Regions from separate parts of the Homo sapiens genome. Here regions 1, 2 and 3 are each linked to region 4. Evidence: promoter capture Hi-C in 16 types of primary human blood cells and fetal thymus (Javierre and others, 2016). All regions are on one chromosome and are shown on one strand. The core of a region is centred on a gene start or on the middle of the fragment in contact, and the rest is flanking DNA. Distances in the headings are between cores, read along the strand shown.

Region 1 (3,533 bases), core at 471-2,970, 150 kb after region 4:
CTATACACAAAGTAGAAGGTGGAACACACCCAGGAGCATGTCAACGGGGTGCTGTGGGACTTCAGAGTAGGCAGATCGTCACCAAGCTTCAACGGCAAAGATGCCACTGGGGGAAAGAAGGACCAAGCTTGGAAGACAGAGTAAGTCTGGAGGCAAGATCTTGTCTCACCAGCAGGGGCCAGGTCCATGGTGACACCTTCCCCAGGCAGTCACCTCTCTGAGCCCACTTTATATCCTAGGCCTGGATTCAAAGACACTTGAGCCCTGCTCCAGCCTTCCTTTGAGGTGCTATCTTGGTGCCTTTCCTATAATCACTGCTCCAGTCCCATGTCATCTGGTCCCCAGTTACCACATCAAGCTTCCCGAAGCTCCACACAGACCATGCCACATCTTTACCAAAAAATCAGCAGTGGGTCCCCTCACCTCCAGGACAAAGCTCCAGCTCTTCGACCTGCCTGTCAATATTTGCAATCACTGCCTGCACAAATTAGCTGGGTGTTGTCATGAAAGGATCACTTGAGCCCAGGAGTTCCAGGCTGCAATGACCTATGATTGAACCACTGCACTCTGGCCTGGGTGACAGAGTGGATCTAAACTAAAAATAAAAAGATTTACAGTCAAGCCTCAAAGGCTTTTCCCATACCTTCTTCCACCATCACCTCCCTGAGCCCTCTCTTTCCTCCGAAGCCTCCTCGCACATCCCTACCACCTTTGCACACCTCAGAATGGGGACACCTCTCCCCTTTCCTCTCCATCTAACTTATGGTTTTCAAACTTGAGCGTGATCAGTTACCTGGAGATTTGTGAAAACCCAGATGACTAGACCCACCCCCAGTTTCTGATTCAGCAGGTCTGGGGTGGGGCCGAGGATCTGCATTTCTAACAAGTTCCCAGGTCATGTTGCCGCTGCTACTGATCCAGGACTTTGGGAATCGCTCCTCTAATCTACAGCTGTCCATTCCCCATGGTCCATTCAGAGCCTCTCTGCCCTGCCCCCACCACCCCCAGTCTCGCCTGTCTGCCAAGCGCACAGGAAACTCTCCTTCATCCAAACCCTGGACCAACGCCTTCTGCTTGGCCCACTCAGAGGCCTTGTAGGGTTGGTCTGATATTGGACAGAGAAATGGCCCTCTGCTCTTTCTCCCCTGACCTCTCTGAAGGGGGCCTGCCCCTCCACACCTGTGGGTATTTCTCGCAAGGTGGAGACAAGAGACTGAGAAAAGAAATAAGACACAGAGAAAGTATAGAGGAATAAAAGTGGGCCCAGGGGACCGGCGCTCAGCAAGTGAGGACCTGCACCGGTGCTGGTCTCTGAGTTCCCTCAGTATTTATTGATCACTATCTTTACTATCTCCGCGAGGGGAATGTGGTGGGGCTATAGGGTGAAGGTGAGGAGAGGGTCAGCAGAAAAACATATGAGCAAAGACTCTGTGTCATAAATAAGTTTAAGGAAAGGTGCTGTGCCTGGATGTGCTAGATTTATGTTTAACTTTACACAAACATCTCAGTGTAGTAAAGAGTAACAGAGCAGTATTGCCGCCATGATGTCTCGCCTCCAGACATAAGGCAGTTTTCTCCTCTCTCAAAATAGAATGTATGATCGGTTTTACACCGGGTCATTCCATTCCCAGGGACGAGCAGGAGACAGATGCCTTCCTCTTATCTCAACCGAATAGAGGCCTTCCTCCTTCACTAATCCTCCTCAGCACAGACCCTTTACGGGTGTCGGGCTGGGGGGCTGTAAGGTCTTTCCCTTCCCATGAGGCCATATCTCAGGCTGTCTCAGTGGGGGGAAACCTGGACAATACCTAGGCTTTCTCGGGCAGGGGTTCCTGCGGCCTTCCACAGTGTATTGTGTCTCTGGTTAATAGAGAACGGAGAATGGTGATGACTTTCACCAAGCACACTGCCTGCAAGAACTTTTCTTTTTTTTTTTTTTTGAGACAGAGTCTTGCTCTGTCGCCCAGGCTGGAGTGCAGTGGCGCGATCTCGGCTCACTGCCACCTCTGCCTCCCGGGTTCACGCCATTCTCCTGCCTCAGCCTCCCGAGTAGCTGGGACTACAGGCGCCCGCCACCACGCCCGGCTAATTTTTTTGTATTTTTTTAGTAGAGATGGGGTTTCACCGTGTTCACCAGGATGGTCTCGATCTCCTGACCTCATGATCCGCCCGCCTTGGCCTCCCAAAATGCTGGGATTACACGTGTGAGGCAAGAACTTTTTAAAAGTGCATCTTGCGCAGCCCTAGATCCATTAAACCTTGATTCAATACAGGACATGTTTTTGTGAGCACAGGGTTGGGACAAAAGTTACAGATTAACAGCATCTCAAAGCAGAACAATTTTTCTTAGTACAGATCAAAATGGAGTTTCTTATGTCTTCCTTTTTCTACATAGACACAGTAACAATCTGATCTCTCTTTCTTTTCCCCATACCTCTCACGCTGTATCAGGCCCCAATTCTTGGGAACGTCACCTTAGAACTGTCCCACACATTTCTACAGCCACTTGGCTCAGGCCCTTTGCTGACCAGGATGGTTGCAGTTCTGCCTTTGGTGCCTCGCCTCCTCCAGTTCTTTCACTCAGCAGCTGCAGGGGTCCACGTGGCAAATCTAATAATCTTCTTCTCTATAGAAAATCCTCTGCTGGCTCTCTAGTGCCCAGGATCCAGTCCCAGCATCTCAGCACGGCCTTCAAGCATTTCCACGTCCTGGCCTGGCTCCATGGTCTCCCCGCCAATTTGCCACCTTCTCCATGCATCCTTTTCTGATCCCCTCCTCACTCATCCCAGCAAAGAACCCCCTCCTGGCCTGAGCATAGCATTTCGTGGTGTGTATCTCAGAGCATCCAGTTAGGGGTGTGCAAGTTTACTTTGTTACTGGCTGATGTTGTGAAGTCCCAAGTTGTTGGTGCCGCAAACAAAAAATTGGACATGACACACACAAATAGCAAAGCAGCAAAAGTTTATTAAGCACAGTACGATCCACTATGGATCAAGGATGACCTGCGAATGGTATCAGCATCACTTTGCTATATTTCATGGCCTTTTCTATGTGTTTTTTTTCTCTTTTTCCTCAAGCTGCCTAAGCTTTAGCCAGCATGTGCCTTTTGGTTGACAGGTGGGTTGCTTAGTTTCTTGGCCTCTGTGTGTTTACGTGTCATTTCCTTCCCATAGTTTTAAGTACATGCATGATATGCACTCTGTAGGCATGAACCTTAAGTAGCTAATTACTATACGGGGTCATTTTGAGGATATCTTTTCTCTGTAGTACATGTGCATCTTTTTTTGCAGTGGTGCAATCTTGGCTCACTGCAACCTCCTCCTCCCTGGTTCAAGTGATTCTCCTGCCTCAGCTTCCTAAGCACCTGAGACTACAGGTGCATGCCACCACGCCCGGCTAATTTTTGTATTTTTAGTAGAGATGGGGTTTCACCATGTTGGCCAGGCTGATCTCGAACTCCTGACCGCAAGTGATCCACCCACCTCGGCCTCCCAAAGCACTGGGATTACAGGCATGAGCCACCGCACCCAGCC
Region 2 (3,293 bases), core at 239-2,738, 170 kb after region 4:
TCTTCTAATCAGAGCGCAAGCTGGGAGCACAGGCACTGCAGGAGAGAATGCCCAGTGACCAGTCACTGACCCTGTGCAGAACCTCCTGGAAGCGAGCTTTGCTGGGAGAGGGGGTAGCTAGCCTGAGAGGGAACCCTCTAAGGGACCTCAAAGGTGATTGTGCCAGGCTCTGCGCCTGCCCCACACCCTCCCTTACCCTCCTCCAGACCATTCAGGACACAGGGAAATCAGGGTTACAAATCTTCTTGATCCACTTCTCTCAGGATCCCCTCTCTTCCTACCCTTCCTCACCACTTCCCTCAGTCCCAACTCCTTTTCCCTATTTCCTTCTCCTCCTGTCTTTAAAGCCTGCCTCTTCCAGGAAGACCCCCCTATTGCTGCTGGGGCTCCCCATTTGCTTACTTTGCATTTGTGCCCACTCTCCACCCCTGCTCCCCTGAGCTGAAATAAAAATACAATAAACTTACTATAAAGATGCTCTTCGTGTGTGTGTGTGTGTGTGTGTGTGTGTGTGTGTGTGTGTGAGAGAGAGAGAGAGAGAGAGACCCCTTCTCTGGGGACCAGGAATCTTCTGGTCTTTGGGGTCGGACCCAGAGGAGAGGTTGCTGGGCGTGCCCCAGGAAGGAGATGAAGTTTCCCTGGAGAGGGAAAAATTCTGTGGAGGCTGGCTACCCACCTCCACAACCCACAGGGCTCTGTGTGGGCCTGTGTGTGTGTGAGGCTGAGACTCTGTAATTACATGTGTGTGATATACCGTGGGGGAGAGACTCAGGGTTGTGTGAGCTCTCCTGGTGTATGTGTGTGGCAGAGAAAAAGGACTATGAGAAACTGTAACATGTGTGTGCAAATTGTATCCCCAACATATGTGTTTGTGTTCCAGGAGGAGGAGGCAGAGTGTGTGTGTCTGTGTGCATGCATGCGCCCACATCCTTTTAGCTTGTGCACAACCACCCCCAACTCCACAAGCAGCCCCAGTGTGCACCACAAGCCCCCTCACTCCCAAACCCAAGGCCCAGCCCTCACACAGATACACACAGTGACACACGCTTCCTCCTCCCCGAACAGCTAGCTCCTCAGTCCCCAACAACACCAGCTGCCTCTTGGAGCTTGTGTTCGTGTTGAAAACGGGAAGGGGTGGGGGCAGGACATGAACCATTTCACCAATGAAGCCGGTTCCCAGCCATCCTCCTCACCGCCCTCCCTCTCAGCGCCTTCCTTGCCCCTCCTCCCCGAGTCACCACCGTCCAGTTCCCCACCCTGCACTCGTTTCCCGCCCCCCCCCGCCCCCCACAAAGCTGTCCTGCCTTCCCTCTGGCCTGGGCTCACTGGCAGGACGACCCCGGGAGAGAGGGTCCTGGAGAGTGAGAGGGGCAGAGACCGAGTGAGCCGTGGGCTGAGCCTGGGAGGCCGGGACTGAGGGGGAGGAGGGAGGCCCGGGGGAAGGGAGGGAGGGAGAGAGGGAAGGAGGGAGGAGGGCGGGCGAGCTGGAGCCGGCAGGCAGCGGGAGCCCGAGAGAGCCGCGTCGGGAGTGCGGTCTCCATGGCAGTGCTGGGCGCAGCCGGAGAGAGGTAAGACGACCCCTGCCTGCCCCGTCCCCTGTGTTGCCTCCCTTTCCCCCTCAAGCTGCCTCCTCTCCCCTAGGCCGGCCCCTCCTCCCCAGCCACCTGCTGTTTCTGCCCTGGAGAACCTGGAGGGGGACAGGAGGGAGGAGCCGCCTGACCTTACCCCTTCACCCCAAAGGGCGAGGGACCCCGTCGGCCAGGGAACCTCCCAGATCCCCCTTCCCACCTTCCTCTGATCTCTCCCTGTCCTTCACCTCCCTCTCTCTGTCCTTCACATCTTTCCTGCCTCCTTCCCTCTCTGACTCCCTATCTCTTTCATCCTGAGCCCACCAGCTGGGCCTGGGTGGAGGTGGGTGGGAAGGGGTCCAGGGCTGTAGGAGAGGACACTGGGGGCTGCTCTTGGCCAAGTCCCTCCACCTCCCTCTGGCTGGCCATTGCCATGGCAACTAGGGTGTACTGGGCTCCGGAGGGAAGCCAAGGGTGGGGGTGGACCAGGACCTCTTGGGGAAAGCAAGGGTCTGAGCTGCTTCCATGGGAAACAGACCCTTTCACTGCTGTGCCCCATTTTTACCCCACTTACCCTAAAGCCATTATGTGCTTCCTTACAGCCCCACTCTGTTCAGGGTTTCACCCGATTCCCTTACCCCCCTTCCCAGGGCTCACTGAAGCTCAGCATCACGCACTAAAACTGGGACCATCCTTCCTCCCATGAGAGGGAAACTGAGGCTCTGGGCCAGGGAGGAAGAGTCAAGGTCTCCCCACGGGGAGTCAGCACCTTATTGAACATTTGGCTTTTCTTCTCAGCCTCCTATTCCCTGCTCCCTCCCTCCCTCCCTCCTCCAGTCCCTCCTCCCTCCAAAGCCTCCTCTCCAGGGGGTTTGAGCTTTTCCTGCTATTTTCAGATACTACCACTTTGCCCCCTCTTTCTCTTCTGCTCAAACTCTCCTCCTTCTCCCTAGTTCCCCCTCTTTCCATTTCTGGATGCTTCTGATGTCAGCGGTTTCCCCGCCTTCAGGTTCCCTAGCACCCCCTTCGGTCCCAGACTCCTTTCTCCCATTTTCCCAGATATGGGTAGCTGGAGGGTGATCACCCAGGTTTGGGGAAGTAGGGGCTAAGCACCAAGACCCCTGCATCCAGGAGACCGGCAGGTAGGGGAGGAAGGCTGTGATGCCATATCCCAGTTCACTGTGAACCCTCAAGAGGAAACCAGTCTTGTGTCTCCCATCAGTAGTTCTGAAGAGACATTTAGGGACTTGAAGATAGGGGTGGAGTAGTGCTGAGCAGGGGATGTTCTAAGAAGGAACCTGGGAGTTCCAGCGGGAGGAGGAAGGGCTAAAGGAGACAGGGAGGTGGGAATACCTTCTTCCCTAGAGGTCTGGAAGAGTGCGGCTCTCATCTGTGTGGGGTGTTTAGCTGTCAGAGTTAAGGCAAAGGAATGTTCTGAATGACCCTCAGGGCCTTAGTAATCAGTCATGCCTATAGTTTCAAGAAAGGGGGCACAGGAGGCTGATTGGAGACCAGCCCAGGCCCTACCTTTGCCCTCTCCCTCCCACATCTCATCTTTCCCTTGCAGCCTGTCCAGGGGGCTGAGCCCCACCCCCAAATCCCTGGGGCATCCAGAAGATTCCTGACTGGTCAAGAACCAGAGGCAAAAGAGACCTGGAAGTCCCAGCATGGGGACCAGAACCCCCCAGCCAGCCTCATAGTTGGGAAAGTAGCCAGCTTGCCTGC
Region 3 (3,303 bases), core at 257-2,756, 130 kb after region 4:
AAAAGAATACTCAGAGAGTATGTGTTGACTGGTTGATAACTATCGGCCATGACAGATTAGCCATGTCTGCAGCACGCACCTGCGGCCACTCAGTAGTAGCACCCCACGGCAGGTGCTTAATAATGTATAGAGATTGAATGAATACGTGAACATGCTAATGGATAATACATCTCCTGAAGGCCAATCCTGAGTTTTCACTTGCTTTCTGGATACCTCTAACTAGATGTTATACCACCTCTCAGCCGCCTTACCCTGAACCCCAGCTTTTTCTCCCACCAATCCCCTTGCTGACTCAGCCTGTCAGTAATCCACTGGTATCCATCCACCTCGAAACCTGGCCTCCTCCTCTCTACATCCCATCAGTCATCAAAGTCCACCAGTTCTTTCTGTCCAATGCCCTCTTGAAGGTCAACTGTTTTATGTAGACGGCTCAATGAGAGAGATACTGTTACCCCGAAGACTTTCTCAAAACAGCTGGGAAGTGCCAGACTCTGGGTCTAAACTCAGGTGTCTGCATCACCAAATCACTCTCCAGGACACTACTCAGATGCCCTTCACCCTTTGTCTCCTCCCACCCACCCATCTCTCACTTTACAACTTGGAGAATGCTCTGTCTCTAGATGAATGGGTCAGTTCCCTGTTCTCTATACCTTCAGAAAGGGGGATGATGTTCATTCAGGGGGCACCACAAGGCAGGGGACACTGATGTGAGCCGCATCATGGAAGTTCCAAAATTGTGAAGTAGATGGGGGTCAGCTCATCTGACTGATTTTGAGGGTTCTGAGCATTTGAGTAGAAAGTAATGTAAAAGAATCTGTAATAGTATTTATTCTGTGGTCTGCCAGGGCCAGTTTGAGTGTGAAGGCAGTAGGGAGCCTGGAAATGTTTTGAGCAGGGGAGGGAGCTGACTAGAGCATTGTCTGAATAAGATAAATGTGGCCGGCAGGGCATGATGGCTCACACCTGTAATCCCAGCACTTTGAAAGGCTGAGACGAGAGGAGCACTTGAGTCCAGGAATTCCAGACTAGCCTGGGCAACATGGTGAAAACGCATCTGTATACAATTTAATAAAAAAATAAATAGAAAGAAAAAGATGAACGTGGCCATGACCCATGATGTCCTTCCCCAACCTCCCCTGGCCAGAACCCAAGTGAGTGCAGGGTGATTGAGACTTGGGGTTCAACCTGTGATATCACGTAAGGGGGGCAGAATCCCAAAAGATCTCTTCCTTCTACTCTTTTCAGTGACTCCCAAATCCTTTGGGTCACCTGGATCCCTGGGGAAGCTGCTTTGTGAGGTGACTCCAGTATCTGGACAAGAACGCTTTGTGTGGAGCTCTCTGGACACCCCATCCCAGAGGAGTTTCTCAGGACCTTGGCTGGAGGCACAGGAGGCCCAGCTCCTTTCCCAGCCTTGGCAATGCCAGCTGTACCAGGGGGAGAGGCTTCTTGGAGCAGCAGTGTACTTCACAGAGCTGTCTAGCCCAGGTCCGAGGCCCCAGAATGCCAGGACCCAAACGCCACAGCAATAATCTTTATCCTCCTTCCAGAACAGCCCCTGCCACCCCCATCCCAGCGCTTTTCTTTCCAGTCAGGGACCTGATCTCTGGCTTTTGCCTAGGGTTGACCCGTTTCCGCCACTGATCAGCTGAATGACCCTGGGACAAGTCCCTTAAACTCTCTGGATCTCATTGCATCTGTAAAGTCTGAGAGAATGACAAAGTGTCCTTTCTAGTCCTGACCCTATGCCTCATCCTGTACTTTCTCCATAGGTGCCCAACGCTCTGGGAGAGCCCCAGGTGCCCTCCCAGCAGGCCACCTCCTGCTGTTTCTCATCCTTGGTGTCCTTTCTCTGCTCCTTTTGGTGACTGGAGCCTTTGGCTTTCACCTTTGGAGAAGACAGGTGAGCCAGGGACATGGCAACCCCGCCCCCCAGCAGCTCCCGCTCTTCCATCCTCAGAGTGCTGATGGCACCCCTTCCTCAGGAAGGTGACCAAATGGGACCCTGAACTTGCCCTCAGAGCCCCCCTTCTTCATAAGCCTCTCACTCCAGGGATGGCTTGTGCCTGGGTAGGCTGGAAGGGGGGTTGGGAGAAAGCCAGGACCAGATGGGGAGGGCAGGGGCGCTGAGAAAAAATAGAGGGACTCAGTGTCCCTCCTCATCCGCTTCCCTTCATCCTTCTCCTCCTTCCGCCCTCCGTCTCTCTCTCCATCTCTTCTCACAGTGGCGACCAAGACGATTTTCTGCCTTAGAGCAAGGGATTCACCCTCCGCAGGCTCAGAGCAAGATAGAGGAGCTGGAGCAAGAACCGGAGCCGGAGCCGGAGCCGGAACCGGAGCCCGAGCCCGAGCCCGAGCCGGAGCAGCTCTGACCTGGAGCTGAGGCAGCCAGCAGATCTCAGCAGCCCAGTCCAAATAAACTCCCTGTCAGCAGCAAGCCTGAGTCTGGCTCTTTCTTGTCCAAGTGAAGGTTCCCGTCTCTCCCCAGCCTCTGAGGGCTCCCTTCTCCCACCCTAGCCTCCTAACCTACTTTCCCCAGCCAGCCTCCCTCACCTTCCCCTTTTCTGTTTCTGGCTGCTTCGTGTTTCTTTCTTGGTCTCTCTCTCTCTTGCGCTCACTCTCTCTTTCTCTCTCCTGGGTAATCATTTCTCTGAAGCTCCCCCGAAAAAGCCCTTGCCCCTTGCCTCCGCAGCTCTCTCCTCCGTCCTTCCACCCACCTTCCACCCACAGTGCGCTGGCTGCCCTGGTTTCCTTGATATTTTTGTCCTTTGGGTCCACCCCACCCCACACTCAGCTGCACTTCAGCACTTGTCCTTGGCCCTCCGGCTGCAGCAGATGCGCACATATGCTCGCGCGCACGTGCACACACACATGCACACACACGCGCGCGCGCACACGCACACACACACACACACACACACACGCGCGGCGCGCAGAGGACTGCCTTGTCAAGTCTTCCAGGAGATCCGGTCTGGAAACCTCTCTGGGCAGCCGGCTGGGGCTCCTACCTCTGCCCCACCCCCCACGTTCCTCAGCCCTTGGAGGCTTTTCTGGTCCCAGGCATGAGAACACACTGCCACCCAGTGGTCACTGCTTGTCACACCCCAACGGAGGTCACTGGGCCGGCTGCGGCAGGCCTGAGGAGTTGAGCAGTGCAGTGGACAAGGCAGGGCACAGACTGCTGTGAATGCAGGCACCGCCTTTGTATTATGCACGTTCTATGTGCAGCATATGAGTATGTGCCCGGTGACTGTCACATGTCCTATGCACCCTTCAGGAGAGGGACTGAACAATGCATGTCTC
Region 4 (3,572 bases), core at 31-2,530:
AGTAGAAACGGGGTTTCACCATGTTGGCCAGGCTGGTCTCGAACTCCTGACTTCAGGTGATCTGCCCATCTCGGGCTCCCAAAGTGCTGAGATTACAGGCATGAGCCACCATGCCCAGTCTCTTCTCTACTTTTCTTGCAGTAACAGAATTGTTCAATCTGAATATCCAAGGTGAGACTGTATTCATATATAATCTGGGTAAATGACTGGCAAAATGGCAGGGAAGGAGGAGCTAAGGATGACTCTCCTGGAACCCTTCCTCAACTCCCCACTGCTGCCGCCTCTCCCTTGGCCCTGGGGCACCAAATCCAACCTTTGTCCTGGGCCTCACCTTGGCATAGTAGACGTGGTTGGAGCAACGGTAGTGAGTGAACTGGCAGAAAGACTCAAACCAGGAGGCATAAGGGAGGTTGGAGCAGACAGCACCTGAGAAAGGGCAGGGGTGGAGAAGATGAACCCGTGGGGAGCTTGGGGTGGGGCTGTGGGCAATGGACTCCACGCCATGGGGAGGGTGGAGAGTACGAGCTCATGGTGTGGTGCCAGCCATGCCCTTCCCCGCCTCACATGAGCACAGGGGTTTTTGCCCTGAGGTTTGGGTGAACACTCTGGGTGCCTCGGTTTCCCCCCTAGTCTGGCCCTCACCATCGGGCACTAAGCCGTGGTTTTCATATTGGTCCAGCTGGACGAGTGTGGGATTCCGGCAGCCGTGGGTTGCACGGAGACGGCAGGTAGTCTCTGCCTTCCAGGTTGGAGTCAGCAGTGCGAAGAAGCGTTCGTATTCGGTAGGAGAGAGAGGGCTGCCTGGAGTGGAGGCCTGAGTCGAATCCTGGGCTGCGGCAGGTGCCAGAGGCAGGAGCAGCACTGCGGAGCGGGCGAACGGATGATGGAAGGACCGAACCCCAAAACCCGCTCCGAGACCAGGACAGACAGACCCAGACTGGCAAATTAGGAACGGGGTGAGGGTTATCCCTGCTGACCAGGGCGGGGGGAGTCTAGAGACAGAGGCAAAGGTCCGGCCGCGGGCGGGGGGAGATGGGAGTATCCCAGGACCTAGGGAGCCGACCCAGCGCGACCACCATGAGGAAGCGATCCAGAAACCGTAAAAGCAGAGCTCTCGGGAGGGAGAGGACTAGCCCGGGGAGAGTCTGTTGGAGCAGGTGTAAACCTCTCACCCTTCAGGAGTGAGGGAAGGAAGCCAGCGGCTGGCTTCCTCATGGCCGGAGAAGATCCGCCCGCGTCCCGTGGACACAAGCCGCCTCTAACGGGCCAAGCCGCAGAGAGAGCCGCAGGCGCGGGGCGGGGCGCACGCGGGCACCGCCCACGCGTCACAAAGAGCGGGCCGGGGCGGGGCCTCGACAGCCGGGCTCTCAGGGCCCTAAAGTGGCCAGAGCCCATCCAGATGGTAGGAATGGCAAACAGCTACCTTCACTTAGCGTCTTTTTCTTTTTTTTTTGAGACGGAGTCCTACTCTGTCGCCCAGGCTGGAGTGCAGTGGTGCGATCTCGGCTCACTACAACCTCGGCGTCCCAGGTTCAAGTGATTCTCCTGCCTCAGCCTCCCGAGTAGCTGGGACTATAGGTGCACGCCACCACGCCCAGCTAATTTTTGTATTTTTAGTAGAGATGGTATTTCACCATGCTGGCCAGATGGTCTCGATCTCTTGACCTTGTGATCCGCCCACCTCGGCCTCCCAAAGTGCTGGGATTACAGGCGTGAGCCACCATGCCCGGCCTAATTTTTGTATTTTTAGTAGAGACTGGGTTTCACCATGTTGGCCAGGCTGGTCTTGAACTCCTGACTTCAAATGATCTGCCCACCTCGGCCTCCCAAAGTGCTGGGATTACAGGTGTGAGCCACCGTAGCCAGCCACTTAGCATCTTTACATGCACTACCTTACGTAATTGCCATAGGAATCCCATAAGGTAGATACACTATCATTCGTTTTACAGATGAGAAATCGGGGCTTAGGGAAGCAACTCGCCCAACAAACAGGTCGTGAGGTCTAGAGCTAAGCGCAGGCAGAGATAGAATGTGCAAAACCAAGTCAAGGCCTATCTGGGTAGGAACTAGACAGGGCGCCTCCATGAGCAAAATGGGTCCAAGGGGAAAACAAGAGGGTGGCTCAGTGGTCTACGAAAGTGGTTTCCAAGGGAGAATCGAGTAAGACAGTCCACTGAGGTATGGGAGGAGAACTTTTGCTTTTGTATCTGTTTTGTGTTTAAAATGAGAAATTCCAGCCTGGGCAACAGGGCGAAACCTCGTCTCTACAAAAAGTACAAAAAATTAGCCAAGCGTGGTGGCACGTGCCTGTAGTCCCAGTTTCTTGGGGGGCTGAGATGGGAGGATCGCTTGAGCCCATGAGGCCAAGGCTGCAGTGAGGTGCAATCGGGCCACTGCTCTCCAGCCTGGGTGACAAAGTGAGACCCTGTCCCCACCCAAAAGCAAAAGTAAAAAAGAAAAATAAAACAAGAAATTGTCTTGGGCCAGACTTGGTGGCTCACGCCTGTAATCCCAGCATTTGGGAAGTCAAGGCGGGTGGATTCCTTGAGCCCAGGAGTTCCAGACCAGCCTGGGCAACATGGCGAAACCCTGTCTCTACAAAAAATACAAAAATTGTCAGGTGTGGTGGTGTGCGCCTGTTGTCCCACTTACTACTTGGGGAGGCTGAGGTAGGAGGATCACCTGAGTCTTCAGAGGTCAAGGCTGCAGTGAGCTGAGATCTCACCACTGTGCTCCAGCCTGGGTGACAAAGTGAGACCCTGTCTCAAAAATAAAATAAAATAAAATAAATTAATAAAATAGAGACCAGGCACTGTGGCTCATTCCTGGAATTCCAGCACTTTGGGAGGCCAAGGAGGGTGGATCTCTTGAGGCCAGGAGTTTGAGACCAGCCTGGCCAAAATGGTGAAACTTGGCCGGTGCGATGGCTCATGCCTGTAATCCTAGCACTTTGGGAGACCAAGGCAGGCAGATCACGAGGTCAGGAGATCAAGACCATCCTAGCTAACACGGTGAAACCCTGTCTCTACTAAAAATACAAAAAATTAGCCAGGCGTGGTGGCATGTGCCTGTAGTCCCAGCTACTCGGGAGGCTGAGGCAGGAGAATTGCTTGAACTCGGGAGATGGAGGTTGCAGTGAGCCGAAATCACGCCACTGCACTCCAGCCTGCATGACAGAGTGAGACTCCATCTCAAAAAAAAAAAAAGGGTGAAACCCAGTCTCTACTAAAAATACAAAAATTATGGCTGGTCTCAGCACAGTGCAATCTCTGCCTCCTGGGTTCAAGTGATTCTCCTGCCTCAACCTCCCAAGTAGCTAGGATTATAGGCACATGCCACCACATCTGGCTAATTTTTGTATTTTTAGTAGAGATGGGGTTTTAACATGTTGGCCAGACTGGCCTCGAACTCCGGACCTCAGGTGATCCACCCACCTCAACCTCCCAGAGTGCTGGGATTACAGGTGTGAGCCACCGCACCCAGCCTATTTATTTTTTTGAGACGGAGTCTCACTCTATCGCCCAGGCTGGAGTGCAGTGGTACAATCTCAGCTCACTGCAACCTCTGCCTCC

Evidence for each region. Contacts are between HindIII fragments. The CHiCAGO score rates a contact against its expected background, and 5 or more counts as called.
Region 1: a contact is called between a fragment that was not itself captured here and the fragment with the promoter of ACRBP in region 4, in 14 of 17 cell types (activated CD4 T cells, naive CD4 T cells, non-activated CD4 T cells and 11 more). The highest score is 23.1, in activated CD4 T cells.
Region 2: the fragment with the promoter of GPR162 here is called in contact with the fragment with the promoter of ACRBP in region 4 in 12 of 17 cell types (naive CD4 T cells, endothelial precursors, activated CD4 T cells and 9 more); the score reaches 10.1 in naive CD4 T cells.
Region 3: a fragment that was not itself captured here is called in contact with the fragment with the promoter of ACRBP in region 4 in 17 of 17 cell types (naive CD4 T cells, activated CD4 T cells, naive CD8 T cells and 14 more); the score reaches 20.0 in naive CD4 T cells.

What each region holds. Positions count from the first base shown.
Region 1 is chr12:6,796,248-6,799,780 of GRCh38, forward strand. The region is part of intron 1 of CD4 (CD4 molecule); the gene reads left to right. Among named protein-coding and RNA genes, the nearest start is that of CD4, 8.5 kb to the left of the region's middle. The HindIII fragment of the contact is 2,728 bases long and covers 357-3,084 here.
Region 2 is chr12:6,820,333-6,823,625 of GRCh38, forward strand. It overlaps GPR162 (G protein-coupled receptor 162), which reads left to right and starts at 1,489. Exons shown (of 5, transcript NM_019858.2): 1 at 1,489-1,568; 2 at 3,136-3,293. It overlaps CD4 (CD4 molecule), which reads left to right. Exons shown (of 10, transcript NM_000616.5): 10 at 1-467. RefSeq lists an enhancer at 500-1,472. The HindIII fragment of the contact is 21,739 bases long and covers 1-3,293 here.
Region 3 is chr12:6,776,019-6,779,321 of GRCh38, forward strand. It overlaps LAG3 (lymphocyte activating 3), which reads left to right. Exons shown (of 8, transcript NM_002286.6): 6 at 1,246-1,488; 7 at 1,773-1,903; 8 at 2,226-2,437. The coding sequence ends at 2,372. Among named protein-coding and RNA genes, the nearest start is that of LAG3, 5.2 kb to the left of the region's middle. RefSeq lists enhancers at 2,296-2,946, 2,695-2,744, 2,947-3,303. The HindIII fragment of the contact is 5,544 bases long and covers 1-3,303 here.
Region 4 is chr12:6,646,152-6,649,723 of GRCh38, forward strand. ACRBP (acrosin binding protein) reads right to left here and starts at 1,281. Exons shown (of 10, transcript NM_032489.3): 1 at 1,173-1,281; 2 at 643-861; 3 at 332-426. The coding sequence starts at 1,215. RefSeq lists enhancers at 702-1,215, 1,139-1,208. The HindIII fragment of the contact is 16,958 bases long and covers 1-3,572 here.